Regions from separate parts of the Homo sapiens genome. Here regions 2, 3, 4, 5 and 6 are each linked to region 1. The links are contacts of gene promoters, found by promoter capture Hi-C in blood cells and fetal thymus (Javierre and others, 2016). All regions are on one chromosome and are shown on one strand. Each heading gives the region's core, a stretch centred on a gene start or on the middle of the fragment in contact. The rest is flanking DNA. Distances are from core to core; before and after follow the strand shown.

What was found. Contacts are between HindIII fragments. The CHiCAGO score rates a contact against its expected background, and 5 or more counts as called.
Region 2: a fragment that was not itself captured here is called in contact with the fragment with the promoter of LAMB3 in region 1 in 1 of 17 cell types (M0 macrophages); the score reaches 6.5 in M0 macrophages.
Region 3: a contact is called between a fragment that was not itself captured here and the fragment with the promoter of LAMB3 in region 1, in 1 of 17 cell types (M0 macrophages). The highest score is 8.4, in M0 macrophages.
Region 4: a contact is called between a fragment that was not itself captured here and the fragment with the promoter of LAMB3 in region 1, in 1 of 17 cell types (M0 macrophages). The highest score is 6.6, in M0 macrophages.
Region 5: a fragment that was not itself captured here is called in contact with the fragment with the promoter of LAMB3 in region 1 in 2 of 17 cell types (M0 macrophages and M2 macrophages); the score reaches 7.6 in M0 macrophages.
Region 6: a fragment that was not itself captured here is called in contact with the fragment with the promoter of LAMB3 in region 1 in 1 of 17 cell types (M0 macrophages); the score reaches 5.4 in M0 macrophages.

The regions. Positions count from the first base shown.
Region 1 is chr1:209,651,175-209,655,926 of GRCh38, reverse strand. LAMB3 (laminin subunit beta 3) reads left to right here and starts at 3,502. Exons shown (of 23, transcript NM_000228.3): 1 at 3,502-3,558. RefSeq lists an enhancer at 2,801-4,000. The HindIII fragment of the contact is 2,819 bases long and covers 2,875-4,752 here.
Region 2 is chr1:207,820,380-207,825,131 of GRCh38, reverse strand. MIR29B2CHG (MIR29B2 and MIR29C host gene) reads left to right here and starts at 2,429. Exons shown (of 6, transcript NR_135299.1): 1 at 2,429-2,928. It overlaps LOC148696 (a long non-coding RNA gene), which reads right to left. Exons shown (of 1, transcript NR_026817.1): 1 at 2,536-4,752. RefSeq lists enhancers at 739-788, 2,559-2,738 and a silencer at 2,239-2,418. The HindIII fragment of the contact is 1,107 bases long and covers 2,349-3,455 here.
Region 3 is chr1:208,024,226-208,028,977 of GRCh38, reverse strand. PLXNA2 (plexin A2) reads left to right here. Exons shown (of 32, transcript NM_025179.4): 30 at 1-148; 31 at 819-969; 32 at 1,640-4,752. The coding sequence ends at 1,735. Among named protein-coding and RNA genes, the nearest start is that of LINC02767, 68 kb to the right of the region's middle. The HindIII fragment of the contact is 2,650 bases long and covers 1,363-4,012 here.
Region 4 is chr1:208,177,071-208,181,822 of GRCh38, reverse strand. All of the region lies in intron 3 of PLXNA2 (plexin A2), which reads left to right. Among named protein-coding and RNA genes, the nearest start is that of PLXNA2, 65 kb to the left of the region's middle. RefSeq lists enhancers at 1,004-1,957, 2,081-2,637. The HindIII fragment of the contact is 1,999 bases long and covers 912-2,910 here.
Region 5 is chr1:208,199,858-208,204,609 of GRCh38, reverse strand. All of the region lies in intron 3 of PLXNA2 (plexin A2), which reads left to right. Among named protein-coding and RNA genes, the nearest start is that of PLXNA2, 42 kb to the left of the region's middle. RefSeq lists a silencer at 2,992-3,286. The HindIII fragment of the contact is 8,872 bases long and covers 1-4,752 here.
Region 6 is chr1:208,217,088-208,221,839 of GRCh38, reverse strand. It overlaps PLXNA2 (plexin A2), which reads left to right. Exons shown (of 32, transcript NM_025179.4): 2 at 3,838-4,752. The coding sequence starts at 3,918. The region is part of intron 3 of LOC105372884 (a long non-coding RNA gene); the gene reads right to left. Among named protein-coding and RNA genes, the nearest start is that of PLXNA2, 25 kb to the left of the region's middle. RefSeq lists an enhancer at 1,882-2,176. The HindIII fragment of the contact is 1,020 bases long and covers 2,406-3,425 here.

The sequences.
Region 1 (4,752 bases), core at 2,253-4,752:
CCTGGTGCCCCTTCCTCCAACACCTGAGAGTCACAGCCTGGACCAGGTTCTCCTATGCCCCCTGAACCTCTTCTCTCTCCTTTTCTTCCTCCTTTTCTCCTTCCTTTGTTCCCTATCCCTTGATCTCTGATTGATCAGATCTTGGCTGATCTCCCTAGCGACTTGGACGGTTTGAGCCTGACAGATGGATAATAGACACAGTAGCTTATAATGCCACCCCCACACCCTGTCAGAGACATTGCCAGGAATGACTGAGAAGCAGGCAAAGAAGGAGACTGCCTCTGTCAATATGGTGACATTTCTGTAATTGGAGATAGGTGCCTCAAAAAAGACCTCCGCACTCTGGCTGATACAGGAATTTCCACTATTAGTAATCCATCCCAGTGCCCAAAGCCTGGATTGTCCCCTCTGAGAATGCAACTACACATCAACGGCACAGGGGATGCATTGAACTGTATCAATTGTTTGTACTTTAGTGTGGATCCATTCATTCCACAAGTATTGAGCACCTACTATGTGCCAGGCACTTGGAAAACAGTAGTGAATAAGATAGAAATCTCTGCCTTCTTGGATATTACATTCTAGTTGGGAAGAGACAGAAAATAAACATAAGCAGATAAATTATATAGTTGGTTAGAAGCTGGTACATGATGCCCCCCTACCAAATAAGTAAATAAATAACTCACCAAAATATAGGGTAGGTGGGGTTAGGAGTGTTAGGATGGGGGACAGGGATGGGGCAGGGAAGTTGGCTGTAATTTTAATAGTGTGTTTAGGATAGGCCTCATTGAGAAGTTAGGATCTGAACAAAGACTTTGAAAGAGGTCAGAGAGTTAGCTTTGTAGATATCCAGGGGCAAGACCGTTCCAGGCAGCAGAAGCAGCTGGAGCCAAAGCCCTAAGCCTGAGCTAAGACAGGGATAGAGGCCATTGTAGTAGAGGTGAAGAGTAATGGGAGGAAGGTGGTGTAGGGTCCCCTAGACTCTGAAAAAGCTCTGGCCTTGGCCCTGAGTGGGATAGGGGCATGTGAAGATTCTGAGCTCGGGGTGCATAACCTGCTGTGTTGGGACTTGACTGTATATCAGTGAGGAGGCTGTTGCAGACGTCCCAGGAAAAGAGGCTCAGGCCAGGAGGGAAGAAGTAGATTCTGATTATTATTGGAAGGCAGAGCTGACCGAATTTGCTGATGGAGTGATGAGGTTTGAAAGATACTGAAGTCTGGGATGACTTCACTAGCCACTTTCCTGAGCACACATTCTAATAAGTCAAGGCTCTAGGGCAGATAAGTGCTCTGTTGTAGGAGGATGGGCGCAGGGAGAGAGGAAAGGTGTGCACACAGGGGAGGCTGAGGGGCTCCAGCCACAGTACCACACCCCTTTAATCTTAGCTGGACCCTGATCTGGCCTCAGGCTCTATTTTAGGCTACTTGACTGAACAAATTGGGTTCTGAAGCTCCAGAGCTTGTGCCTGGAGCCCTGGAGTTCTTGGGGGACTGGATCCCCACTTGGAAATGATCAGTGTCCCTCAGGAGTGAGGCTGGCTGGGCTGCTCTTGGGGGTCTGCATAAACAGCTTCCTGGACTTTGCCGGGAGTGTAGGGGAGAGCCAAGCACAGCAATTGGCATGTCCCTCCTGCGAAGCCAAACCACTCCAGGACCTGCCCAAGCCTGTGAAGTCTGAGACACCGAATGTGTATTTACCTGGGCTCATGGCCTCAGATAAAGGGAGGAGGAGGAGGATTTAAGGGGCCCCAGCTACTCATGGTGAGGCCCACCGCACACCTGCCCTGCCTTTTCTCCTCTGAGGATCTGGGATTGCAACACCTGCTCTCTTCTGCTGAGTTAATTATTAATGAGTTCTTTGTCACATCCTCTGGTGATGGGCAGAGGGCGAAAGTTTCATGAGCGCTCTGAGTTCAGGGAGTTGGGGAAGTGGAGAGAAAGAGACCACCAGGTGGGAGAACTGAAAACACAGGTGTGTCAGAGTCAGAGCTGACCTTTCTCGGTGGGGGACTTGAGGGAGGTCTCTCTGTGTTGAAGGGACACTGCTTCTACTGACCTTACTTGCTGAGTTGAGCTAGATTTCACTGGAATGCTTACAGGGGGCAAGACTCTAACATTTATTGGACTATCAATTATGCATCAACTTACATCAACAACTCACTGCCCACTTGCTAATTACACTATTTCTTCTGCCTACCTGAACTTATGCTTAATTCGAATCTGAGGGTTAGAAATGCCCAATTTAATCCACAAAATTCTACATTTCCCCCTTAAGGGTCTTCAAGCCAATTTCTTGGACATAACCCTCCAATGGTGGAGAACTTTCTGTTTAGGAGACACTAACAAAGTGGAATCGTAGTTAAGAAGCTCCTTTAAATAGTAGCTTTGAGGTCCTAGCATTCCAAAACGGTGCCAGTGCAGGCTCTCCAGGGCCAAGATATGGACTGGCTGACCCTCCAGGTTTCCCTAAAAGCTCTCTGACCCTAACCTGGGGGAAAGAGTGTCCTGTGAGACCAGCCTCTCAATTTGGACCTGCCACTTCCATTTACAGTGGCTGGAAGCCCAGGATCCCTGAGCAAGGAGCCCACAAAAGAAGCTGTGTTCTCAGGCCTGGCAGGAGGCCAGGGAAAGTCTGTTTTGACTTTGTCAGTCAAGCTATGCTTCAGCCTTTCCTTCCACCACTTGTGGTCAGGTCTGTTTTCTGGCCCTCCAGGCGGGCATTCCTGCCTAGGGAGGGAGGGGCTAGGAGACTAACCCTCCCCACAGGTGGGAGGAGTGACTCACAGGCAGCTACCTGTCCCAGGGCTCCCTGCCAACCCTGTGGAGGGAGCTGGAGGCGAGCCATTTAGTTACTCTGCTCATTTCTCTTAAGCTTTCCTTGGATGAGTTGAGCTTTGAATCCTTCCTGATGAACCTTGCCTTTTAAGGATCCTCCAAATGCCCCAAGAAGCTGGGATTTTTCATTTTTTTTTTCACTGGGGAGGGGAATGGTGCTTTCCAGGGTCCTGGATGTTTGAGTCTTCTCACCTTCCAGCCCGGTGATATGTCTGGAGCTTTAACTCTCTATATAAGCCCTAATCTTTGTGTTCTCTGCCTGATCTTCTGTCTGGGGTGGTCCAGGTCACAAGAAGAAGCTGACCCCTGCTGGCTTTGGGAAAATGCTGAGTTCATTGCCTGGCACAAATGCAAGGGCCCTTCCCCACCCTGTGAATTCTGGTCTCTGATGATCACTTACATGTGCCTTGTGCTTTCTGTTTGAGGGGCCCCTTGCAGCCCCCACAGGCAGGTGGGCATTGTGGAGCTCACTACAAGAACTCTGGGACGGACCGACCAACCCACTTGCCCAGTCCCGTCCTGGGAGGTGGGGGTGCAGTGACGACAGATGGGTGTGACGGCTGCCAGATTCCTGAGACCCGCCCTGCGGTGGGGCTACACCCAGCCAGGGAGTCTCCAGAGGTGAGGCTGTTGTTTAAAAACCTGGAGCCGGGAGGGGAGACCCCCACATTCAAGAGGAGCTTTCAGGCGATCTGGAGAAAGAACGGCAGAACACACAGCAAGGTATGTTACCTGTCTTTACCTGCCTGGTGCGGGCCGGATGCGGGAGGAGGACTGTATCTCTGGATGCCTGGGGCCTGGTTTCAGGGCCTGATTTATTCCTCTTCCTGGGAGCTCACTCAGGTGAGCTAGGTTAAAATGTCTGCTACAGTTTTGATTTCTTTTTCACATTTGATAAGCACCTCAGTGGCTTAGAAGAAAGCAGGTTCAGATCCGGGGTTGAGCACAAAAGAGAAGTGAGAAGGGTGGGCTGGCCTGGCTCAGAATGCCTACTTGCAGGGGGATTTTCAGTCAGGGGTGGGAAAGCTGAGAAAGCACTGGATGAAAGTCAGAAGATGGGTCTCTCTTAGGCCATCGTTAGCTGTGGGACCCCAGGCCACATGTTCCCTCCCTGGGCCCATGACTCTTTTAGGAGAGGGATTGGAAGGAATGATTTTGAAGCATTAGGATCTATAATTTAAAGATGCCAGAAATGTCCTCAATTTCCCCCCCCGCCCCTGCCTTGCCAAGCCCCCAGCCCTCCACCCCAGCCAAAAGAGTTTGTGGCTGTCATTGGAACAGAGTGAACATCCAATTCAAGGCAGAAGGGTCACTGCATGAGCAAGGGTGGGGCATGTTTCCACAAGGCAGGCCTGCCTCTGGGACCCCACGGTGGCTTTCGAGCATCCTTCCCCAGCCTCCTTCAGAATCCCTGCTTTGTGGCCTCCCAGCCCCACCCCTCTTGTCGAGCCCCAGCCCATCATTGAAGACATTTTGGGTTGCTTCCCTTTCAGAAGAAACCCTCACTCACTTGTTAAAGACAGCCATACATCTCTCCCTGTTGCATCCCAGAATTGTGGGCACAGAGCCTCAAACTCAAAGTGGCCCTGAATGGTATTGGAGGCCATGCCCGTGACAGGAGAAGGTTTGCCTCCAGGCCGTCAGCCACTCTGACTCATTCACTTTGGGCGGGGCTGGGTTGAGGCTGCTGGTCTAGGCCCTGAGAAAAGCCAGCCCTCTCTCTTGGGGCTGGAACTAGGTCTTGGCCCTTTCTACAGCTTTTCTCCTGCAAAGGGTCCAGCCTTTTCCTGCTCCCCACGTTGTCCTTACGGCTGTGTGGGGTAGGGCAGGGTCCACACTCCTTCCCATCCATTTTAGAGGAGGAAGCTGGAGTCTGGGAAGGGATGGGATTTTCCCAGGGCACCCTGTGAGTCACAT
Region 2 (4,752 bases), core at 1,653-4,152, 1.8 Mb after region 1:
ATTTTTGCGTCTGGGGGGAGGGGCAGGAAAATGTTGGGGGCTCTTTGCTTGCTGTAGTGGAGACCTGTGAGTATCCAAAAACAACCCCACTCCATCTCTAGATCATTGGTGGACCACCCCTTCCTGGAAGAGTTTCCAGGAGTGTGGACATCCATGCATGAACATTGTGGAGGGGTTGGGGGTCGGCTCGTGGATGCTCATCTTGCTTGACTGCCCATGCTGGAGAGGAGAACCCAGTCATTGGCCACTTCAGGTCCAGGCTTGGCTGTTGCTCTGTTTTGCTGTTTTTCATGTTGTCAGATCTTCTTGGGAACAAATGACTCAGCAACCCAAATCTCTGAGACTGTGTGGCCAATTACTTGAAAAGTAATTGAACGTATTTACCTAGGCCCTAAAATTTTGAGCCCAGGAAGGATGGATATCCAGACTGGTTTTACTCTGGATTCTTCAGGCTGCAGTTCAATTTGGTTTTTCAAATTCCTGCCCTGATAGAAGGATCTCATGTGTGGGGTAGGCAGGCAATGTTTTAATTACGCTTTTTGTCCTTAAGAAATTCCAGGGAGAAAAAGGTCCTGGTTTTTGGCCAAAAAGGCAAAAAACAACAGAAATCAGCTATGACTGTAATCCTGGACTTGTCTGTGGCACAAAGAGTTAATGGGACAGTGGTCAGGGTGAGGAACATTTTTTCTCAGGGCTGGAGAAGCCCATATGGCTCAAGAAAACATGTTGCAACATTTAGTACAGGGCAGCCCTGTCTGGGCACTGGGGGCTGCCACTCAAAGAGTTAAGCTACTCTTATGCCTGAGAAGGCCTCAGGGAAGGAGTGAGCCTGAAAGGACAGGGACCTCTATGCCCCAGAGCAGTGAGGTGCAGGAGGGGTGAGGTGGGAGGGTGTGAGCTGAAAAGTGTGGCCAAGGAAGCAGAGTGTAGGCCCAACTTTTTTTGCCTTGTTTGACCAGCCTTGGCACTGCCCTCCGGCTCTCCAGGGGAAAAGCTGCAGTTCTGCTCTTGCAACACAAGGAGCAGACTGGAGAATTTAGATCTGCGTCACAGAGCTGAGAGAGAGAGAGAGAGAGAGAGAGAGAGAGAGAGTGAGAGAGCGAGCGAGCAAGCAAGCTCCGTCGATAGGTCTGCTAGCAACAGCCGTGCTGCAGCAGAGAGAGAGAGAGAAATCAAGAAACAAGTCATAGCAACACCGGGCACCAGGTTCTGCCAGCTCACTTGCTGAGCGTTCAGAGATCTGTCAGGGCCAGAGGCCTCTGGGTAGCCTAGGCTAGGAGATGACACGCAAGGTGGCACGGGCGGTTCCCGTGGGGAGGAGGTGGGGTGGTGGTGGGGGGCAGGGGTGGGAGCAAGAGGTTGTGGGGCGACGGTGGAGGGTTTGATGGGACCAAATTCTGGAACATTCGGGACTGCGGCACCTTACGGCGGGACCAAGATTTGGGTCTGCGCAGGCGGCGATGGGTGGTCCGACGGGCTTCAGGACTTGATGGCGTAACCCCCTTCTTCCCCCACGTATGTATTTGCTGGGATCAGGGGCGCTGTCTCTGTGTATGTGGGTGCTCTGTCTTTCTCACCTTCTTTCTCGATTTTTGCTATTTATTTCTCTGAGGGAGGGTTTTTTCCCACTTTAATTTCTTTTCCCTAGTGTCAGCTGCTCAAGCCTGACCAGGGTAGAGGTGAGAGGAGTGAACCATCCCCTGCTTCCCACCTGACCTCCCAGCTTTTACCCTATTTCCTTCTAGTGGACAGACAGACTGGTTCTCCAAGTTGTTTGGGTGTCAGCGTCCATCTGTCTGTCCGTGCAGGTCTTATGTGGAAGGTAAGGGAGTGAGAAGTGCCGAAAGGAAGACAGAGGGACAGTTTTTTCCCAGGGGTTGCCTTATTGAAAGGTCTGGCCCTGGGATTCTGAGGCTGGTGGGGAGCCGAGTGGCCAGGGTGGGGTGTGGGCTGGGAGAAGTGGGGTAAAGCTGGTAGGTTTGTCACTGCGTAGTTGGGAAAAGTGGGGAATGGTGACGCAGTCACTGTTGCATCTGGTTAGGAGCTCTATGGGGACAGGTAGTGAGGCTCCTGGGGTCTCTGTGGCCAGCTGAGAGGGGTTAAGGATGAGCTAAGAAGGGAAGCTAGCATTTAGAGATTAAATGTCATCCTTTTGGCGTTGGAAAGTTGTTTACCTTGCGCTCTCTGTGTCTCCATGTTGGCTCCCTTCCAGTTCACATGTGATGGCCTTCCCTGTACTGCTGCATCATTAACTAAGTGACTGAGCTGGCCTTCCATTGGCCAGGGGAGGGCTCTCCCTCCAGACACTTCCTCTGATTGGTGGGTGGGCCAATGGCAGGTGAAAAGCTTTTTTTGATTGGCTCAGGGCAGGGTATCAAATCTGAATTTGCATTTCACTTGCTTAAAGGGGAGCGGGGAGAAGCCCAGCAGCTTTCTAAAATCTCTTTAGGGGTGTGCGTAGGCTCCTGTGTCTATGCCTGCTTTTGACTGCCCAGTTGAAGCCTCTTCCTATGCCTTTTAAAATTTCACGCACTATAAGGAGGAAGAGCTCAGGGCTCCCAAAACTTTTTATTTAGAGGGAAGAATGCTAGGGAGATGGGTATGCAGAGGGTTGACCAAATTGGAAGAAAATATTTATTCTGTAGTTTGGTGTTGGAAAAGGGAATTTTCCAATCAGCCACACCTCAGTGTTGCGGCAAAATAATTCTTGGCTCCCCTGGAAACGCATGGGCAAGGTAGGGCAGAGCTGCTGCTGCTGATACTGCCACCACCCTGGGCTTCCTGCTGACTCTGGGCTACTCCCTGGGGACAACAGATTTGCATTGACGTCCGGGGCTGTCCAGAGGCCCTCAAGAGCCAGTTGTGAGCTGAGCCCAGTATGGGAAAGATCTACCTTCTGGAAGCTACTACTACGTGGTGCTTGGAAAGGTGAGGATGGGGGACTGACCCCAGGAAATTGCTCGAAACTCCGCATCTGGTGGGATTTCCAGAAAAGTCAGTGGGAGACGGGAGGTTTGGAGGCCCCGGGTTAGAAAGGTTTGTCAGTCTAGGGAATGAGGAGAATCAGAATAAAACTAGGGCAGCAGGCTGTCCGCCTTTGGTTGGGGGAGGGAGGCCTCGAAAAATCAGGGTCCCGGCTCTCTAACCTGTCTTTGTCGCAGGTCTCACGTTTGTGGGGAGGGGGTTTACCAAGCCCTGCGCCATGCGCAGTGGCCCCCACCCGTGACTGCGCATCTGGAAGCGCAGTGCGCCCTGGGTCTCTGGCCTAGGACGAGCACCGCCCTTCTTATTACATAACTGAGGGCATGGCACGCGCCTTCTCGGCCCTTCCTTGCAACCCTACCTTCTTGCTCCCCAGGGCCCATAGAGCTGGGGAGGGTCTGACTGGGTAGCAGTGAAGGACTGCAATCCCTGGGAGGGCTAACTCTTGTCTAGTTACTGGCAGGAGCCAAGCTTGAGGACAAAAGTGGTGGTTTTCTAGCCTCATCTTGGGGAAGAGGCTACAGAACATCCTTCTGAGTGCCCCATACCACCTATGGCCCCTAGGGCCTCTCTGGTGGAGGGGGTGGCACCCTTCTTTCACTCATGTCCCATCTGATTTTTGAGAGGATGTTTCTGAAGGAAAAGATGTGATGATTATCGGGGGCTTGGTTGGGAGGTAGTTTTGACAGTTTACTCCCCTTGTCACTGGCTTCCCCTCTTTTCCCTGGGTGGGTTTATGATCTTTCTGGACTCCTCTGATGAGCTGCCATTTTGGAGCCATTTCTGCTGGTCTCCGACATGGTGGCGTTGGTTTTTCTGTCCTGCTGTGCCAGTTCCGCAGAGTGGGCGGGGGGCGGGGGCTATGACGGAGGAGGGGAAGGGGGGGCAAAAGCACAGCAGAGGCAGGCACAGTGGTGGCTGCCGCAATGAAGGTGGCTCTAGGGGCAGAGCCGCCTAGTCCCACCCTTGGACACAGTCCTGGGTGGGGATTCAGGTGGAAGGCGTCTGGGTAGGGGTTCAACACCTGGGCCCGGCTTTGCCAGAGCGTGGGTTTCCCATGTCCTCATCAGCCTGGTGCTTGGAGTAGTTCGGAAAAGCTGAGTGTCTGAATGAGAGTGGAGGCAGAGGCTCGGCAGCTCATCTCAGACGTGTCAGACCCGTGGTTTGTGTTCCCCAAATAGGCTCTGTCTCCAGCAGCCTCCCTGTGGGGACAGGGAAGTGAGGTCCATGGCAGCTTTGAGGATCTGTTCGGATGGTCCTGCCTGCTTACTGTTTTTCTTCTCTTTCTCCTCCATGCCCCCTGCCAGTGCCATGGTTCCAGCTGTAGTCCTCTTGTGAGGCTCCCCGCTGCCCGTTCCCCCTCTCTCCAGGCCCTTCTGCGTGCAGCGGCCATCTTGTCTTTCTTGCTCAGAAACTTAAAATGGTTTCTCATAATTCCCAGAGTAAAATTCCTTCCCTTTAGCGTGATGCTCAATGCTGGCCGTAACTGGCCTTAGGTTTCCTGTACAGTCTTACCTCTCTCAGTTTCTTTTGGTGGACCATAGGTTCCAACAAAACCAGGCAACTTCCTTTTCCTATCTGTTTTCACCAGTGATGTTTTCCATGCCTCTTCTCCTCTGCATCCACCTGTGGCAGTCTCACTTTCTCCGTGGACCTCTCCTGATTTCCTTGGCAAGAAGCAGTTCTCATAACCACCCCTGCCCTTTCAGCCAAACTTCCATACAGTCTGTCCCTTTTTATGGTACTTTTGTTGTGTTATGATTATTTGTG
Region 3 (4,752 bases), core at 1,438-3,937, 1.6 Mb after region 1:
GCAGCATCACGGACGCCTGCCTCTCTGTGGTGGCCCAGACCTTCATGGACTCTTGTTCAACGTCAGAGCACCGGCTGGGCAAGGACTCCCCCTCCAACAAGCTGCTCTATGCCAAGGACATCCCCAGCTACAAGAGCTGGGTGGAGAGGTCAGTAGCACCCTCAGGACAGGCCCATGCCCTTGTCTCCCTGCCCATTCCCCGCTCTATAGTCATCACTGACTAAGGACTCAGACGACGGTGTCTGTCATCTCTTCAGGACCTCCCACTCCCCTCCCTGCCACACCCCCTGCTGCGGGAGGAAGGGTGGCTTTGTGCCCGTGGAAGTCAGATGATTATCATCCTAATTACTATTCATTGAGCATGTGCTAAGCATTCAGCATTCTGATAAAGATTTTGTGTGTATCATCTCATTAAAATGTCCAGCAGAGTTGTGAAGCCAGTATTATTATTATCCCCATTTTACTGATAAGGAAACTGAGGTACAGAGAGGGTAAATAACTTGCCCTGCGTCACACAGCTAGCAGGTAGCAGAGCTGGGATTTGAACACAAAGAGCCTGGTGAGAGTCTGGGCTTTTAACCACTCTGTTGGGCACCGCAGCCACGAGCTCTCGGCTAGATGGAATCTACTGAAGAAACTCTGGCCTTCAGCCTCAACCTCAGCATGAAGCAAGAGGCCAGAGGAAGCCACATCAGAAGAGAAATAGGGAGGCAGGAGCAACTGGGTACATCAGTGCCCTCGAAGGACCTGGGCCCGGGGTAGCTATAGGTAAATGTTTGCTGAGGCCTCCACCAAGGCGCCTATCCTGTCTCTGGCAGATACTACGCAGACATCGCCAAGCTCCCAGCCATCAGTGACCAGGACATGAATGCCTACCTCGCCGAGCAGTCCCGCCTGCACGCCGTGGAGTTCAACATGCTGAGTGCCCTCAATGAGATCTACTCCTATGTCAGCAAGTATAGTGAGGAGGTGAGACAGGGCCCCAGCAGGGACAGAAACCAACAGGCAAGGAGCAGGAAGCCTGACTCAGTCCTTAAATAGATGGCAATTTAGAAAACACATTCAGGGAGTCAGAAGCCCATGAGCTCGAAAATTATCATTCCTTTATGAGGCAACTCAACTCCTGATTCACTGAAGGCTTTATACACTTCATTGTCTTTCACTCATTGTTAACACAATAAATAACACTTTTAATCATTTGTTTTTCAGTTCAAAGTATGGTATAATTAATTTCATTCTCTCTTAATGAATCAAACTATTCTTTGCATTCGGGCAGATCCTGTCAGTTACATTTCAGATAGACAGGTGGACCCTAATATGAATAGAGATTGATTAGGATACCTTTGGAAAACTCACAAAGCTTCTTTAGCATTGAACGTGAAAGTAGTAGTAGTAGTAGCAATAATTAACACTTGCATAGCACTTCCTATGCCAGAGAATGTTTGAAACACCATACATACATACATATATATAGGTGTGTGTGCATGTATTCATTCAGTTAATCATTTAAATTATTTAAGGTTATGTGCATGAAGGCAGAATGGAAAGGTAGACAGAGGGCAAAGAGGGAACGACTCCAGAAAATGGTGTCTTCTATTCTGAGTCCTGAAGTCTTCCTGCCTTTGTTTTTGCTCCTCAGCTCATCGGGGCCCTAGAGCAGGATGAGCAGGCACGGCGGCAGCGGCTGGCTTATAAGGTGGAGCAGCTCATTAATGCCATGTCCATTGAGAGCTGAGAGGAGGAGCCTCGCATTCCTGGGAAGAGGGACCTGTCCAAGCTGTCACACTGGGAGTCTCAGATGGAAGGACAAGTGATGGGGATCAGGCCCCAGAGCTTGCTGTCCCCTGAGACCCCATCCTGGGGAGAGGGGAGGACTCCTCTCCCTACGCCAGCCAAGTTTCGTCATAGCCAGTTCCAGCTGGGAGAGACAGTGGGCGTCGTCCATCCTCAGTGAGAACACCAGAGAACCCGGGGCCGGGAGAAGGTGGTTCTTCAAGCCGAGAGGCACGAGCTGGGGACAGTTCTGCCTCTGTGACTGCTGCTTTGCATGAAAACTCATTTGATGTATATTGGGGAAATAATGAGAACTTTATTTAATTTTTTTAAGAAAAAGGGAAAAAAACAGAAATAAAACAAAAAGCCGCCCTGTTAATCCCGTCCAACTTTTGTTTAATTCTGATTTCTGTCTCCCTTCCATCTTTTCTCCCATTCCTCCTTCTTTATATAATGCCTATTTCCAAATGCCAGAGAAAGCAGAGATGCTGAGAGACATTGGAGAGAAAATGACTGTCTCCTTTTCCTTGAAATTAAAAAAAAAAAAAAAAAGAGAAAGAGGAGAAGAAGAATGATGAGCACAAGTATGCACCAAACACTTCGCAAAAACAGAGGCCAGTAAAACCTGGAATTATCCCGGCAGCCAGAGGAGTATGGAACTTCCAGAACTTTGCACAAATTGCAAAGCCATCAAGAGCTCACCCTGGCTGACTGGAAACTGAGCTTTATCTACCACACACCTGTATATTCTCATCTTTTGAGAGGAGATGTGTACCTAGATAGTACCAATGCTTTTTGCTACTGTTTTTTGTTTTGTTTTATTTAATCCTAAACCTCAACAAATGAGGAGCTGGTCTTTGATATGTTTCCTTTCAATTTCCCTAAAGTTACTATGAGAAGTGGGGTGAGGTGGGCCTCTCCCAGACCAGACACCTGGCAGCCCTGCCTCATATCAATCCCTGTCATAAACCAGGCACCCTGGGGAAACGGCCTGGAGGTGTGTGGGCCAGGCCTCCACGAGGTTCCATTTGAAAGTTGATTTGGAGACATAGGTGTTTGACTTTGGAGTTCACTCCAATCATCCAGTGGTCCCTGGCAATTAAAAAGAAAACAAAAATCAAACACTGTTTACAGCAAGCAATACTTGAAGAGCATAGGTTACAGAAGCTGCAGTATTTATTATTATGCTTTCTTTCTTTCATTCTCTCGTGCCTGGAGAGGGGAGACCACCCTTCGCTCATATACGGAAGCTCCTGACCATCTGGGCCTACAGCACTTCCTCAGTAGAAATGACTGTGGCATGCCCACGTTACTACCTTCTGCCTCTCTTTCTGCCTCTCACGGACTTGTGAGTGTGAAGGACAAGTGGATGACTTCTCACTGGACTTTCCTTCTCTGTCTCTTCTGATGATGCCTAAAACTATGGATAACCAATTCTCCTGAGTGTAGATTCCAAACAAAGAGACCAAAGCTCCATGCCCAGGTCCAAAGGCCCCATAGAAGCCAGTGGGAGTCATCGAGAGGAAAGGCGCTCTGTGAGTGTCAGGACCTTGGTGGCCAGGATAGCCATCAGAGTGTCCAGGCCTCCCACATTACCTTGGATCCGAGCAGCCAGCTCCAACTGTTCTGCAAGCAGCACTGGAGTCAGGGGGTAGGAGGACAAGTGGAAGCAAAGGTGTGGGACTGGGGAAGACAAAGAGGAACAAGCTGCCCTTCCTCACTTTTCAAAGGGTCAGGAATCCTAGGCTATGATGCTGGGAAGCTAGACCAGCTCCTCCAAGAGAGACTAGACCAGGGTCATTTTCTCTGTTATTAACTCTGGGCTCCAGCTTCTCCGTGCCCTGCTTTACCTCCAAGTGGTTCCAATTTCCAAAGGCCCTGCTGACCACATGTGATTCCCAGGAGAGGGCTGGGGGAGGGGAGCGCAGAGGTCTGGCTTCCATCCTTGGCGTGTAGCTTTGGATCGCTGTCTAACCACACAGCAGACGTTGCCCGGTCTCCCCAGCTCTAGTTTCTTGCCTGAATGCGGCTGACAAATGGGAAGAGAAAAGCATTCAGCAAAATACTCAGGAAACTTGCTGTTTTCATTATAATTCACAACCAGCCATGCCAAGGCCACTTTCTTTTGAAAATCCACTTCTTTAAAGTTTCTCAGGCCCTATTAGTAGCCTGAAGGAAATACTAATGACTGGCCTTCCGCACTAAGCCAAAGTGTTTGCTCTTCATAGCACTCAAAGCTTATCAGCGCAGAGCCCATAATTTATGGAGATAAAAGGAAAGGAGATATAGGTAAGAAGAGTGTGACCAGGAGACCTTATGCTACCTGTAAAAAAGTTCAGCCCACCCCATCTAACTTCTGAGCTCTGTTTGGGTGAAGATTTTCTGGCCGCATGGCTGCTCAGACTGGCATCCAGGCTTTGCTCCACCAAGAAGTTAAAGGCAGTCGGACATCTCAGTAGCATCTCTACCAGCCCTTAACTCAATGCATCTACCTGGCATCTCCCAGCAGTTACTTTTGGAGACGATTCACTGCCCCTGGGGCGTTTCCTTGAAGGTTTGTGGAGAGCGTGGAGAATGATGGGGCAATGGCCAATTGGAGGGTGGAGAGTGAAGAGCCGGAGCTGGCTGTGAGTGGTTTGGCCACATTTCTCAGGATTCCATGAGAGACTTGGGGAACTTGGGCTGACAAAGGAAGTAGCCTGGGGCATCCTTAAGGAAGGAATTAAGAAAAGGGAAAAAGCTGGACTCAAGCCACGCCATGAGGGTGAAAGGTTATAAGGCCCTGCCCCCTTTCCAGCTGCCCACCTGTTCCTCCTCCACACCTCTTCGCTTTGGGCCACCAAGAACCAATGAAGTCCACACCCTTTGGATGAGAAAAAGAGGGAGTTGGTTGGCCTCTCTTCTCCCTGTTATCCAATTTGAGGATATTTTGACCTTGGGTAAGGATGAAGTGTTAAAGCCACAGCTCCTCTCCACAAG
Region 4 (4,752 bases), core at 662-3,161, 1.5 Mb after region 1:
TTTAAAATTACAGCTTCTCCTCCTATCGCTCTGTATTCCGCCACTTCCCATCCCTGGACCTCATCCCTACCTTCACAGTGAACTCGGGCCCACAACGGCCTGGTCTACAGATGGCGGAAAGAGGTGGGAGGTTTTGCCAGAGAGCAGGGGTGAGATTCCCCTCCCAGCCCCTCTCTGACTTCTGACCTCTGCACCTTTCTTGCTAGTGATCCCTAAATTACTGGGCTGTCTAACCCTCTCTAGGGAGGAGGGAAGCAAACAGGGCTGACGGGAGGTGGAGCAGAGAAAGTATGAGGTGGAGGTCAGGGGTCTTTTCACAGTGTGTTTTGGCAAAGGAAGCCTGTGGAGCTGCCAGTGGGATCAGACTTTCATCTCCTGAGCTAGCCCCCTCACTGGGAAAGCAAAAGCTGTCACTGGAGCTGTGATTTGGAGCATGTGCTCTGGGGAACTAGGCTGCACCCCTCAGGGTCTGGCCCCCTGAAGGAAAGACCAGAGAACAGACAGGGCCTTCCCTGCACCCTCCTGCCACCACCCTCCTCAGCCTTAGGAGGTGACAGCAGTGCCTGGAAAGGGGCTTGCTCAGAAGGAAAAGGCTCGGTCTGCCTACCTGGGTCGGGAAGTGGTAGATGGGATTGTCCTCAGGGCCCCAGCCAGCATGAAGCCTCTCTGATGCTTCTTATAGCCCTCAGTGTGTTCCTATCACTCCAGAGAACCTCCCACATGCATTTGTCTCCCAGTCCAGCAAATTAAAATCTGAAAGGAAGGAAGAGGTCACAGGCTCAGAGCCTGGACACTAGAGGTTTCTCACTGAGTGAACTTTGGAAGGCTTGGAAGGCTGGAGTTTGGGGTCGCAGAGAAGTCAGCCTCCGCCATCCCCTCTCAAACTTGGGCAGGGGGAGACCCCAGAAGCTTGACATGGCCAGGGCCAATAGCGGTTACTCCCTTTCCCTCCTACCCCCATTTCCCTCATCACAGTCCTTTTTACCCCTCCTGGGATATCTTCCATCCCAGTTCCCCTCGATTGCTTTAGGGTGTGGGGCAATGACAGCGAATACTCATGAGGGGCAACAACTTCAGACAAAATCTCTGAAGACTCACCCGTGTCTCCACACTTCTTCCACCCCTTGCTAGCTGTGTAAAGTTAACCACTGTGACTCTCAGTTTCCTCGTCTGCCAAACGGAGTAAATAATAGTGCCTTTCTAGGATGGATGCCAATGTTGTTTGGATTCAACATAAAGCAGATGCAGAGGGTGTAACGCGGTGCCTGATACATGAAAGTTAAGCATGAGCTCTTGGGTTTTTGTTTCCCAGGTTTCTTCTCTCTTGGTGGCTCTTTAATGAATAGTGACAGTCCATACCCAGGCAGCCATAGCCACTGCCACTGCCACAGCCAAAGCTCAGGCTATGTGATGAACCTGTTTTCTCTGCCTTCTGCCCCTGCTCCCAGCCATCCCGGCAGAGGTGCCCACTCAGGCCTCCTACCGGAGCCCCTCTCCCACCGCTTGAATGCAGAGGCGTTTCTTCTGCTGACAGCCTGAAGACAGGCCATTTTTCTTCTCCTCCCATATAATGGCCTTTACTCTCCTACCACTCCACCCCCTTTCCCAGCCTTAATGACTTTAACATACACACAGTTATTTAAAAAAAAAAAAAAAAATACAAGCCCCCAGTGAGCTGCTCTAAACCGCCTGTTGTGGAGGAGGAACAACCCAAGCACATGTTCACAAGTCACTGCATGTGATGACAGGGGGCCTTGTGCTAATTTCCTCGTGTTTGAAGCCCCAGGGTGGGGGCGGGGCAGGAGGCAGCCAGAGGGGAGAGACCCAGGGCTTGGGTATTTGCTTGTTCCCTTTGATCCTCCTAGAAAATGCTGTAGCATTTGGGGAAGTATTTCATCCTGGGAAATCTCAAAGAAGAGTAAGAAAGATGCCTTAGGCAGGGGTTGGGGGGTGGCAGGGGATACTGTAGAAGGAAGATGCTACCAGATGACCTTTTCTCTCCTTGAGATTCTGAATCCCTGCTCTGGCTTCCCTGGGCAGCAGGAGAGAGTACAGAATCTCCAAGGGGAGGCTTCAGCTCAAGGTATTTATGGATTTGCTGAAGCCTCCTACCCTAACACTCACACAGTTTTTGCCTTCCAGTTTCTCTTTGTGGCTTATCTGAGAGAGGCTAATAGAGCCTCCAGGGCCCTCATCTGCCCCACCCTGTGGATAGCATCTAGGTTGAGCCTCTCCCTCTGATCTTGACCTCTAGGGCTGACGTGTAGTCTGTGAACCAAGGGTTGGTCTGGTGGGGGAGAAGGGGAGTGAGTGCTGCCTGCCTCTTGGCAGACCATTATGCCAGGAGGGAGGAGGTTCCTGACCACAGGACAGGTCCGGCAGAAGGGAGGGAGGACAAAGAGCCAAAAGCCCCGGCTGCACCTCCTAGCAGGGAAATGGAGCTGGCTGTGAGCCAGGTTTTCCTCTAAATCAGAAGCAAATGCACCAAAGCTGCAACCTTACCCCTTGACCGAGGACGGGAAAGTGCCTGTCTGACCTCACGTTATTGGTGCTATTATCATCATTATTGGTAATATCACCATCATCATCCTGTAATTTACCAGCTTCAATGGCGAGGATGCTTAGGCTTCCTCTGGGCTTTCATGTTAAGAGAAAATGAGTTGTGGCAGCCTCCCCGCCTCTCTCCTCCCCATAACCACCCACAGGGCCTCTGCCCCTGTCCTCATCACCAGAGACTCTCCGTAGCCCAGGCCCAGCGTGCTGTCATGCTTGTGGGGATGCTGTGTGTCAGGGCTTACATGCTAGGGCAAGGGGGAAGGCCCCTTTGTGTGGTAGCACATGTCCCTCCTCTTTAAACCAAGAAAAAGACTTCAACCCACACCCTAAACTAGTTGTTCTCAAACTTAAGCTTGCATCCGAATCACCTGCAGAGCTTATTAAAATACAGATCACTGGGTCCCACGCCCAGCATTTCTGATTTAATGGATCTGAGATGGAGCCTGAGAATTTGTATTTTCCAAATGCTGATTTTGTAAGTTTCCAGTTGATGTTGATGCTGTTGATCTGAGTACCACATTTTGCAAACCACTCCCCTAAGGGTGAGTTATTGGAACTCTTCTTCTCCTCGCATCCTCCTGGATACAGGTGTTTACATTGTCCCTCATTCGATACCTTCCAAATTGGGTTCCCAACAAGGAGGCCAAGGGCCCAGGTGCAGTGTGAGATGGGGGAGTGCTGCTAGCTCGCACACATAGGAACCCCTTGGAGAGAAGGCAGAGGCAGGCAACACCCCCGCCCCTACCCCTGAAGATTTATTCTTTCATTTGGTATTTTAGGCCTTCCTCAAGGGGGTGCTGGGGCCAGCCTGACTCACTGTGTAAACCTTTTTCAGGAACACTGGGCTGCAGCCAAGCTCTCCTCCCTCAGTTAGGCCCACCCTCATTCTTCCCCACCTGTTCCTCTAGCTGAGCTTCAGGCTCAGCAGAAAGTGACAATGTCCCTGTGCACACTGTCCCCATGCCCTGTAGGGAACAGGCACCTGGCTGCACATTGTGTACATTAATTTTCAAAGCAAGGCTTCTCATAACTCTTTGCCATAGCTTTCTCCTCCCCTCTACTCCAAAGAGCTCAGGAATTCCACAAAAACAGTGCCATGGGAGCGTGACCTTTGCTCTTTTTTTTTCTCCTCTCGGTAGGATAAAGAGGAAAGAAGGTAGGAATGGACACTTATTATGCTCCTATAGAATGGCAGAGGCTGTGCTAAATGCATTGCACATCATCTTCTATTACCAGGAGTGTTTTCTGCCTAATGTTTGTTCAAGTCCTCAGGGTAAGGCCCCTGTTTTGCAGTAAGAGGTTTGAAATCTCCAGGTGCACACTGTACACAGATAACCAGAGACGGGCAAAGTCTAGCCCAGTGATTCTCAGACTTGAGAGTGCATCAGAATCACCTGACTGCTTGTTAAAACGCAAATTGCTGGGTCCCACCCCCAGAGTTTCTGATTCATTAGCACTGGGCTGGGGCAGGCCCCAAGAATTTGCATTGCTAACAAGTTCTTAGGTGGGGCAGATGCTGCTGCTCTGGGGACCACGGTTGAGAACCACTTATCTAGTTCTACAGCCCATTGGTTAGACTTTTGCTGGCTGTTGTTTTATGTTTCACTCATCAGAACTGTATTCCCACCTCTAGACCAGATTATACTCTTTCTGCGATCCCTTGAGGTCACTAAGGAAAAATGTGACCAGCTTGCTAATTCCATGTTGTTTATTCATTTATTCAAAAGATAATAATCATTATAGTAAACACTCATTTAGTGCTAAGTGCCACTGTCCTAGAGCTTTGCATGTATTAACTCTTTTAATCCTCATAAATAATCCTGAGGTATCTGTAATTATTATCCCCATTTACAAATGAAGCAACAGAGACACAGAGATTTGAAGGTTACACAGCTGATCAGAGGTGGAGTAGGGATTCAAACCAGGCAGTCTAGTTCCAGAATTTGTTTTGCTAATCAGTCCTCTGCTTGGTGAGTATCTGTTTTGAGATAGGCACTATGCTGGACTCTGAATGCATCAGGTAGGAAAAATACAAAAAGGTGAATAAGTCACAGCCTTTCCTTTAACAATTAACAGTGTTTAACAGTTACAGCCTTTCCTTGTATGAACAATTGGAACATCATAGAATAGTACCAAGACAGAAATATGTATCCAGTGCTGAGGCCCTAAAGCAGGCAGAATGAATAGGTCTGGGAG
Region 5 (4,752 bases), core at 1,161-3,660, 1.5 Mb after region 1:
ACACCAACGGTGACTCCTGTTGATGTGGTTGGTTGCGAAGGAAGGAAGGTATGATGTGTTGGGTAGGTCAGTGAGGGGAGGAGGAGGGTTGGCGTGGCAGTGGCATGAGGAGTCAAGGAAACAGGACAACTTCTGGTGGGTAACAGGAAAGGAGTTTGTTTTCTGGTTAACAACATCTGGAAGAGGGTGGGGTGGTAATCTCAGAAATGTTGGCTGGAGGAAGGGGACAGCATTTACACTGTTGCCTGGAGGGCCCCAGAATAGTACAGACAGCCATCTGCTTCACCTGGATCAGATGCAGGCTTGTGTATAACAGGGGAAGCAGGAAAGAATGCCCAGGGAACCACTGCTTCCCCCACCAGTCTCTGTATGACTCTTGGGATGTTTTTGCAAATCCTCAGAGACTTTCCAAGCTCTGGGGAGGGCCCCGGCCTATTCTGGCACTACCTTCTTTCCCATTAGCTAATGGTGGCTGCTGAAATGCCTGTGAAATTCTTAAAGGAAAATTCTTTCTGCCTTTCCCTAAGGGACATACCAACCCAAGGTCTCCAGTCCCCAGCCCACAGGAAGCCCTGACGTCCCAATTCTATTCTTCTCTTTGTAATCGCACAAACGATTTACTAAGCAAAGCCAGGAAAACTGTGAGCTTCTTGCAGTAGCAGCTTAGGCATTGGAAAGAATCCATCAGGAGCACCAAAGTATTAACTCTCCTCAGCCCTGGGGTTATTACTCAGTTATTTGATAACACTGACTGTTTACAAGATACGTTTCCGTGGTTCTTTTCATCTTCCTCAAATACTTCAACTGAGGGTGCTGATCGCCCCTGCATCTTTACCCCATTTTACAGATGTAGGAAACTGAGCTGTAGCTATACTAAATGTCTTGCCCAAGGTTATATGCTCACCCCCACCCTCCAATGCCAATATTGACATTGGCATTTAGACTTTCTCCCCAAACACACTAACCTGTTACTTGGCTCCTCTCGTGGGGTGGAGTTGCCTTGGCGGATGGAAGGCCAAGTTGGATGAAAAGCTGAGAAACATGCCTTTCTCTCTGTGCCAGCCCCACCAAACAATAGCCACTCATTCCTCTGAGTGGAAATGATTCACTTGTCTCTCAGTATGAACCCTTGATTGAGTAAACAGCCGGAGCTGCAGGTCCACATCTAAGAGACTTAGTGGCTCTCCTGGGACCTGAGACCGCCCATCTGATACCCTAACTCGCCCAGGCGTCTCAGCAATGCTGGACACTGGGGTGGTGGGGAGTAGAGACCCTCTCCCCTTCCCCAGAGCCTGCATGGAAGGGGTGGGGTGGTGGTTCAGGGAGCTCACCACCACATCCCTAGTAATGAGTTTGGCTCCCTGCCCGGGCTCCCGCCGCCAAGCTCGCTGTTTGTTTTGTTGTTCTATAGGCCTCTTGGGTCCCCAGAACTGGTCTTCTGAAAGCTGGGAAAGGCTGCATTTGGTTGGCACAAGAAAGGGGCATATTTACAGAATGTCCCACTCCCACCCGTCTTGACACACACACTCTGGCCAGCACATCTCCTTGCTTGACCATGGCAGGTGTAGACAGGAGATGTCGGCTCTGTCCAGATCCCCAGCAGACCCCAGGGAAGGAGGTCCTGATCTCCCAGAGTCATTCTGAAAGGGGAGAAACTAAAGACTCATTTATTTTTTGTACTTTTTGTGTAGTTTCTAATATACTTCAATCTTGGACAATTCTTGTATGAGGCCTCAGGCTGTGTATTCAGCTGGCTGTTTTGCAGTCTTAAGGTTGAGCTCCTGCAGCTCGGGGCTTTATTGCCAAGCAGGTGAAACACAGAGAACTGTGTTTTATGGATGGGTGGGATGGGCGTAATGATTCAAGCTCACAGAATACAGGTGACCTAAATAGGCTATGCAAAATTTTCAAGAGGCCAAGGTGCTGGTGTTTACAGAGGTCTTATCTTTAGGAAAATACAGACCCTTTTACACCATTAAGCCTTGCCTGTCTGTGGATTTTGTACATGGACCTGGATCTCTGAGTCGGAAGGGACTTACAAAGACCACCTGGTCCACTCTCCTGCCTTCGGGTAGGGACCAATTTGCATAACAAAGAGTATAGGGGCTTTGGAGAGATCCAGTCCTGACTCCATCCTACTAGCTGTGTGACCTCTGAGCTTTAATTTCCTCAATGTAAAATGAGGACAGTTCTGGTACCGGCATCATAAGATTACAGTAAGGATTAAATGACATAATTCATTATTGAACTGATATTTATTGAATATGTACTGTGTGCCAGGAGCTTGGTATAAAGCAGTAGAAAATAAAACTGTCAAAAATGGCTGCCCTGGCCAGGTATGGTGGCTCACACCTGTAATCCCAGCACTTTAGGAGGCCGAGGCGGGCTGATCACCTGAGGTCAGGAGTTCGAGACCAGCCTGGCCAACATGATGAAACCCCATCTCTACTAAAAATACAAAAATTAGCCGGGCATGGCGGCATTGTGCCTGTAATCCCAGCTACTCAGGAGGCCAAGGTGGGGGAATTGCTTGAACCTAGGAGGCAGAGGTTGCAGTGAGCTGAGATTGCACCACTGCATTCCAAGCTGGGGGACACAGAGAGACTCCATCTCAAAAAGAAAAAAAAAAAAAAAAATTCTTGCCCTGATGGAAATTATCTGAATGTGGGAAGTCAGACAAACAAAGTAAGTAATCACAATATATATTATGTTTAGTGGGTGATAAGTGCTAAGGAAAAAATAGATCATAAAGAAATAATTCATGGAAGGGATGGAGTGCAGAGCTTGGGCACATGGGCATATGTGCATTTAAATATTACTACAATTGTGACTTAACTTGTGAACTTCGATTTTTTTTTTCCTGTGGAGTGGGGTAGTAATAAGCACTTTGCATATTTGTTGTAAGGATTAAATAAAATCATGTGTAAAAAGTGCTTAATATGGTGCTTGGCATGCAAGTGCTTTCTATTATTACTGATATCTTTGAGGCTTCCCCAAAACCCCACTTCTTCCCTGGCTCCCTGGGGTAGTGATGCTGTCAGATCAGGCTCCTTTTCAGTGACATGTTTGCAAGGTCAGACGGAGGAAGAGAATCCTGTCCCCTACTCCCAGCCCTGAGTCATGGGAAAAAAATACTTAGAAGACGGGACCAGCTGAGCCGAACTAATCTAATCCTGCTGGACTTTGGCATCCAGTTGCATTAGTCACCAGTGAGAGGTTTCCCAGTCTCATATCACCAAACAATATGTACTGACCCCCTCCCCAGGGTGGGGCTGAAGGAAGTGTCAGTTGCCCTGTTGTAGCTTCGCAGAATTAACTAAAACAGGCCCATTCTCCCCCTTTGCATGTCTCCACACCAACCACAGTATCCTGTGCTGCACAACTCTGCCTTCGATGAATTATGTGATCTGAGGGGACCTCAGTTTATTCATCTGGACCACCCATGCCTGCCTGGCAAGATTGCTATGCGTATCAGACATGGAGGATATATAATGTCTAACACAGATCTTGACATAGGAGATGCTTAATAAATGGCAGTCATTGCTGCCTACCACCTCTGTTGCTGCTAGAGTGACTCCTCCTACTAGTATTACTACTACCACTCCTGTACTATTACCATGTTTTTCTGCCACAGTCCCAAATTCTCTTTGATTCTATTAGTTCATTAGTCCCATATAATTTTCAGATGATCAAGAAGGATTGGAGGCCAGGCGCGGTTGTTCACGCCTGTAATCCCAGCACTTTGGGAGGCCGAGGCAGGCAGATTGCCTGAGGTCAAGAGTTCAAGACCAGCCTGGCCAACATGGCGAAACTCCGTCTCTACTAAAAATACAAAAAAAAAAAATTAGCTGGGCCTGGTGGCGGATGCCTGCAATCCCAGCTACTAAGGAGGCTGAGGCAGGAGGCAGGAGAATCGCTTGAAGCCGGGAGGCGGAGGTTGCAGGGAGCCAAGATTGTACCACTGCACACCAGCCTAGGCGACAGAGCAAGACTCTGTCTCCAAAAAAAGAAAAAAAAAAAAAAAAAAAAAAAGAAGGATTGGGATATTTCACTGCTCTGTTGCAGATGGTGATTCTGAAATTCAGAGATTATGGACTTACTTGGGGTCAAGTTGTAAATCAAGGGAAGATGTGGAAATTGGAACCAGAACGACAAATACTTCAGGGTGGAGATGGGCCCAGCATATACCTAAGTCACTTGTGTAGCCCAAGATGATCAAGCTAAGAGCTTATGGCTACTTTAATGTCTCTTTCCTTCTTGCTAGCATGTGCCTCTCTGTCCAGGGAGGCAGGAAATACATGGAGATGAATGTGGTGAAAATGAATCTGGAGCTCTGGCCTTCTGAGTCTCTTCCTGTGGTTCTATTCTTCTCCTGGCCTCAGCCTCCAGAAAGGTTTCTAGGCTCCAAGGTGGGAAAGAAGTTCAGGAGCTGGTGCCGTTGGGTTGTCCCAATCAGCCATCCCCATCCTACCCTGTGTTATGGTTTCTATGGCAAAGGCTGAGTGTCCCCCAGCTAATCTGGAAGGAGAAATGGCATCAACAGGCTTTAATAACAAATCTGGAATTCCCACGCTTGACAATTGAGGGGAAGAGGCTGGGGAATTGGGGTTAAGGCCCCCAGGGGATAAGATTGACGCTATCAAGCAAGATCAAGAGTGTTCCCTTAAATGTGTATCATAGATTTAGTAGCTGGAGGGGACCTCAGAAAACTGATCTGGTCTACTGACTTTGGACAAGTAAGATGCGTATTGT
Region 6 (4,752 bases), core at 1,666-4,165, 1.4 Mb after region 1:
CAGAGCTCATGCATTTAATTGTTATATCGCACTGCCTCTCACCAGAGGCACAAAGGTGGGCTCCATCCTCCCTTACTCAGAATGTGGATAGGAGTCCTGATCTTTGCCCACTGGGCTCTGCTTGGAACAGCCACTTAGTCACATCAATTTGGCATAGAAAGATGAAGGCTCTCAACGTGCCCTTGAAGTCAGCTGTCTTCATGAAGGCCACACTCCCAAGGTGGGGTGCAAACCTCCCCTCACTGCAGGAGACTGTGCCTCCTCTTGACTCCAGTGTCCAATGACAGCTGCTCCCAGGCGGGCAGTCCCTGAGTCCTGTGAGATGAATTCACTTGGCTGGTTATCAGGAGTGGCCTGTCCCAAAGCAAATGCTGCATGAGGGTGAGAGGAAAACAGCCCAGCTGGAGTGGTCTGTTTAGAACTACTGGCCTGAAAAAAAAAAAAAAAAAAAAAAAAAACAGAAAAAGAAAAAAGCTCCTGACCTAATCAGCCTCTCCAGGTTGGAGCAAAAAACCTCAGCTGCTATTGGAATCACAGACTCCAGGAACTGAAGGAACTAAGCTTCGAGGTAGCATTTTATCTGAAAAAGGAAATCTTATAGGTTGACTAATTCAAATACCTTTTGTTTTAAGATCAAGAAATAGGCTCATGGAAATGCCAGACTGGTCTAAAGTGAGTGACACTATAATTCATGAGTCACACAGGCAGAATGTGAACCCAGGGTTCCTGAGTCTCCCACCTTTCTTCCTGCCCTGTGACCTCATGCCTTCTAGACATCAGGACGTTTCTCATTCTCAGTCTAACTCTCAGGATCCTGTGTTTCCACCAGCCTTCCTGCAGTCTGCGGAGAGGCTATATTGGGACTTGTGCAGTAGTATGACAAAGAAGATCACCTTGGATCTATTTCTTTCCCCTTGCCACATGCTTCCCAGACTGAGCTCTGTCACTGGGTCGGGGAGGCCTAGGGATCAAAGGCACACCCACAGTGTTCATCTCATTGTGGGTGGGAAAGGAAGAATATAAGCAAAAAGAGAAGTCAAGAGCTGTGGCAGGATTTCAGAAGTGCCATCTCCTGTGGAGTCTTCAAAGACAATAACAGGCCAGGTGCAGTGGCTCACGCCTGTAATCCCAGCACTTTGGGAGGCCAAGGCAGGTGGATCACGAGGTCAGGAGATTGAGAGCAGTGTGACCAACATGGTGAAACCCTGTCTTTACTAAAAATACAAAAAAAAAAAAAAAATTAGGCGGGTGTGGTGGCACGTGCCTGTAGTCCCATCTACTGTGGAGGCTGAGGCAGCAGAATCGCTTGAACCAGGGAGGCGGAGGTCTCAATGAGCTGAGATCATACCACTGCACTCCAGCCTGGGCGACAGAGCAAGACTCTGTCTCAATAATAATAATAATAACAAAAACTAACATAAGTTAAGTGCTCACTGTGTGCCTGCAACCATGCTAAGAGGTTGGTCTCTATATTGTCTCATTTACTGTCATGACAACTTGAAAGGTACATACTGTAGTTATTCCCATTCTACCAGAAAGGGACATGAGACTTGACTTGCCTCAAATCCCAAATTTGTTCCCAGATTCTGTCTAACAACAACAAAAGCCACTCACTATTCAAACTGTGTCTTGGGAGGATACCAAGCAGGGAGGTGAGGTGGCTGATCTTAACCGCATACTAAGTCCTTCCATGTTATCTCTGCTACCAGAACCCCCTTCCTCCCCTCGCGGCTCCTCAAGGAGGAACCACTCTCCACCTGGAACCCAAGGAGATTTTCTTCCCAGCGACAGGGGCAGAGAATGGCCTCTTGCAATTCCCCATCCAGCTGGAGAATTTAAGGATTCTGTTATTTCCTTTCCACAGCTCCTCTTCAGGAATTCACGTCCTGCTACCGGCCTCAGGACATAGCTAAAAATAACCTCTGGTTTCCAAACTGAAAGCCCTGTCTGTTGGGAGGCTTTGCCGGTGTGCGCCTGGGGCCGGAAGGGCTGTGTCGGAGTAGCTGAGGTCAGCCTGAGTCTCATGCCGGTGTTGCCTTCCTCTTTCCAAGGAAGCCCAGGGCCTCATGAGTCACCCCGAACACCCTGGGGGAGTCGGGTTGGAGGAGGGAGTTAGGTGGGACCTACTGTGGCACCACGGTGGCTGCCAGGCCGAGGATGCAGAACTGAACAAGAGGAAGGGTCGTTCCTAAAGAAACTCTAGGGGATTCTCTAAGTGGTGTCTGTTCTAATTATAACCCAATCCAGCCAGAATGGGGAGTTGAGGGAGAAAGGCCTCTCCTAAGCTGCCTTGGAGCAAACTCTCCATCCTTCGGGTGTTTCCATCCCTGCCACCTTATGTGCCCAGAGTTCTGTCTGGACTTGCCTGAGAAGGTTGCTGGATGATCTTCCAGCTGAGAAAAGCTTTCTCTGCCGGACAGCTCGCTGCCTTCTCCTGGTGCCGCAGTCACTTCCCACTGTCCCTCTCCATAAGTCAGGACAGTACCATGATAGTGATGGAACAGGCCCTGCTCTCTGACCTCCAGGTCCTGCTCTCTGACCTCCAGGCTCTGCTCTCTGACTTCCTGCCCCTGGCCCAGACTGCCCCTGGCTACAGGCTGTCCTCAGGAGCCCCACCTTGCCCCTCTGGGCAGCTTCCTTGGAACAGGGAAGAATAAGCACCAAGGCTCTGGAAGTGGAGGAGCCTTAAAGCCTGGGAGTCAGGAGGCAGGGGGAAGAGTAAAGGAGTCAGGGCTAGAGACTGGGCTTCGAGCATGGCCCACTGAGGCCCGCTGGTGATTTCATGGATGCTGAAACAGTCAGGAGGCCCCAGCAGTGCCTGAAATGAGACTGAATCTCACCTCACCACCCTTTGCTGCTCCCCACATTCTCCCAAATCTGGTACCCCTGCCCCAGGTGGCTGAAGCTGGACTCAGCCAGCCAGTAACCCCTAGCAAGGAGACTGGTTCTCTGTGTGTCCTGGCTTCCCATGTGCTCTGCCTGCAGAGAGGCAGAGGTTGAAGCAATTTCCCGAGGACCTGGCTACCTGGCAGCAGCTGGGCGTCCACCTTGAGAAGGATGGGGGAATCTCAAGAGATCTGCCTGTCTCCCGAGGGCTTTTCCGGCTCCGGAATGGCACATGTGGGAATCCCAGTCTTGTTGGCTACAACATTTTTCCCTTTCCTAACAAGTTCTAACAGCTGTTCTAACAGCTAGTGATCAGGGGTTCTTCTTGCTGGAGAAGAAAGGGCTGAGGGCAGAGCAGGGCACTCTCACTCAGGGTGACCAGCTCCTTGCCTCTCTGTGGATAACAGAGCATGAGAAAGTGAAGAGATGCAGCGGAGTGAGGTGATGGAAGTCTAAAATAGGAAGGAATTTTGTGTGCAATATCAGACTCTGGGAGCAGTTGACCTGGAGAGCCTGGGGGAGGGCCTGCCTAACAAGCTTTCAAAAAACAGGAGCGACTTCCACTGGGCTGGGATAAGACGTGCCGGTAGGATAGGGAAGACTGGGTTTAGTCCTAATATCAAATTGACTGGCTGGGTGAACTTCAACAGCCTTTTAACCTCTCTGGGAGATGAAAACGATGGCTTAAGGGGCCAGAAATAGAGATGCTTTGTAAAATAAAATTTTAAAAAAAGCAAGTATTTTATAGCATAAAGGCTAGAGACCAAAATAGATAACAGGATTCCCTGAACATTCCTAAGAGGGAGAAAGTATGTTAAAAATAGAAAAACCAAAATGCAGAAGGAGGAGACTCACAGAGCTAAACCAGGATGGGGACCCTGGGTCAGGCCAGCCTCTTTGCTCCTCCCGGAAATTATTTTTGGTCTGACCACTCTGCCTTGTGTTTTGCAGAATCATGTGAGGGCCAACCGGGGAAGGTGGAGCAGATGAGCACACACAGGAGCCGTCTCCTCACCGCCGCCCCTCTCAGCATGGAACAGAGGCGGCCCTGGCCCCGGGCCCTGGAGGTGGACAGCCGCTCTGTGGTCCTGCTCTCAGTGGTCTGGGTGCTGCTGGCCCCCCCAGCAGCCGGCATGCCTCAGTTCAGCACCTTCCACTCTGAGAATCGTGACTGGACCTTCAACCACTTGACCGTCCACCAAGGGACGGGGGCCGTCTATGTGGGGGCCATCAACCGGGTCTATAAGCTGACAGGCAACCTGACCATCCAGGTGGCTCATAAGACAGGGCCAGAAGAGGACAACAAGTCTTGTTACCCGCCCCTCATCGTGCAGCCCTGCAGCGAAGTGCTCACCCTCACCAACAATGTCAACAAGCTGCTCATCATTGACTACTCTGAGAACCGCCTGCTGGCCTGTGGGAGCCTCTACCAGGGGGTCTGCAAGCTGCTGCGGCTGGATGACCTCTTCATCCTGGTGGAGCCATCCCACAAGAAGGAGCACTACCTGTCCAGTGTCAACAAGACGGGCACCATGTACGGGGTGATTGTGCGCTCTGAGGGTGAGGATGGCAAGCTCTTCATCGGCACGGCTGTGGATGGGAAGCAGGATTACTTCCCGACCCTGTCCAGCCGGAAGCTGCCCCGAGACCCTGAGTCCTCAGCCATGCTCGACTATGAGCTACACAGCGATTTTGTCTCCTCTCTCATCAAGATCCCTTCAGACACCCTGGCCCTGGTCTCCCACTTTGACATCTTCTACATCTACGGCTTTGCTAGTGGGGGCTTTGTCTACTTTCTCACTGTCCAGCCCGAGACCCCTGAGGGTGTGGCCATCAACTCCGCTGGAGACCTCTTCTACACCTCAC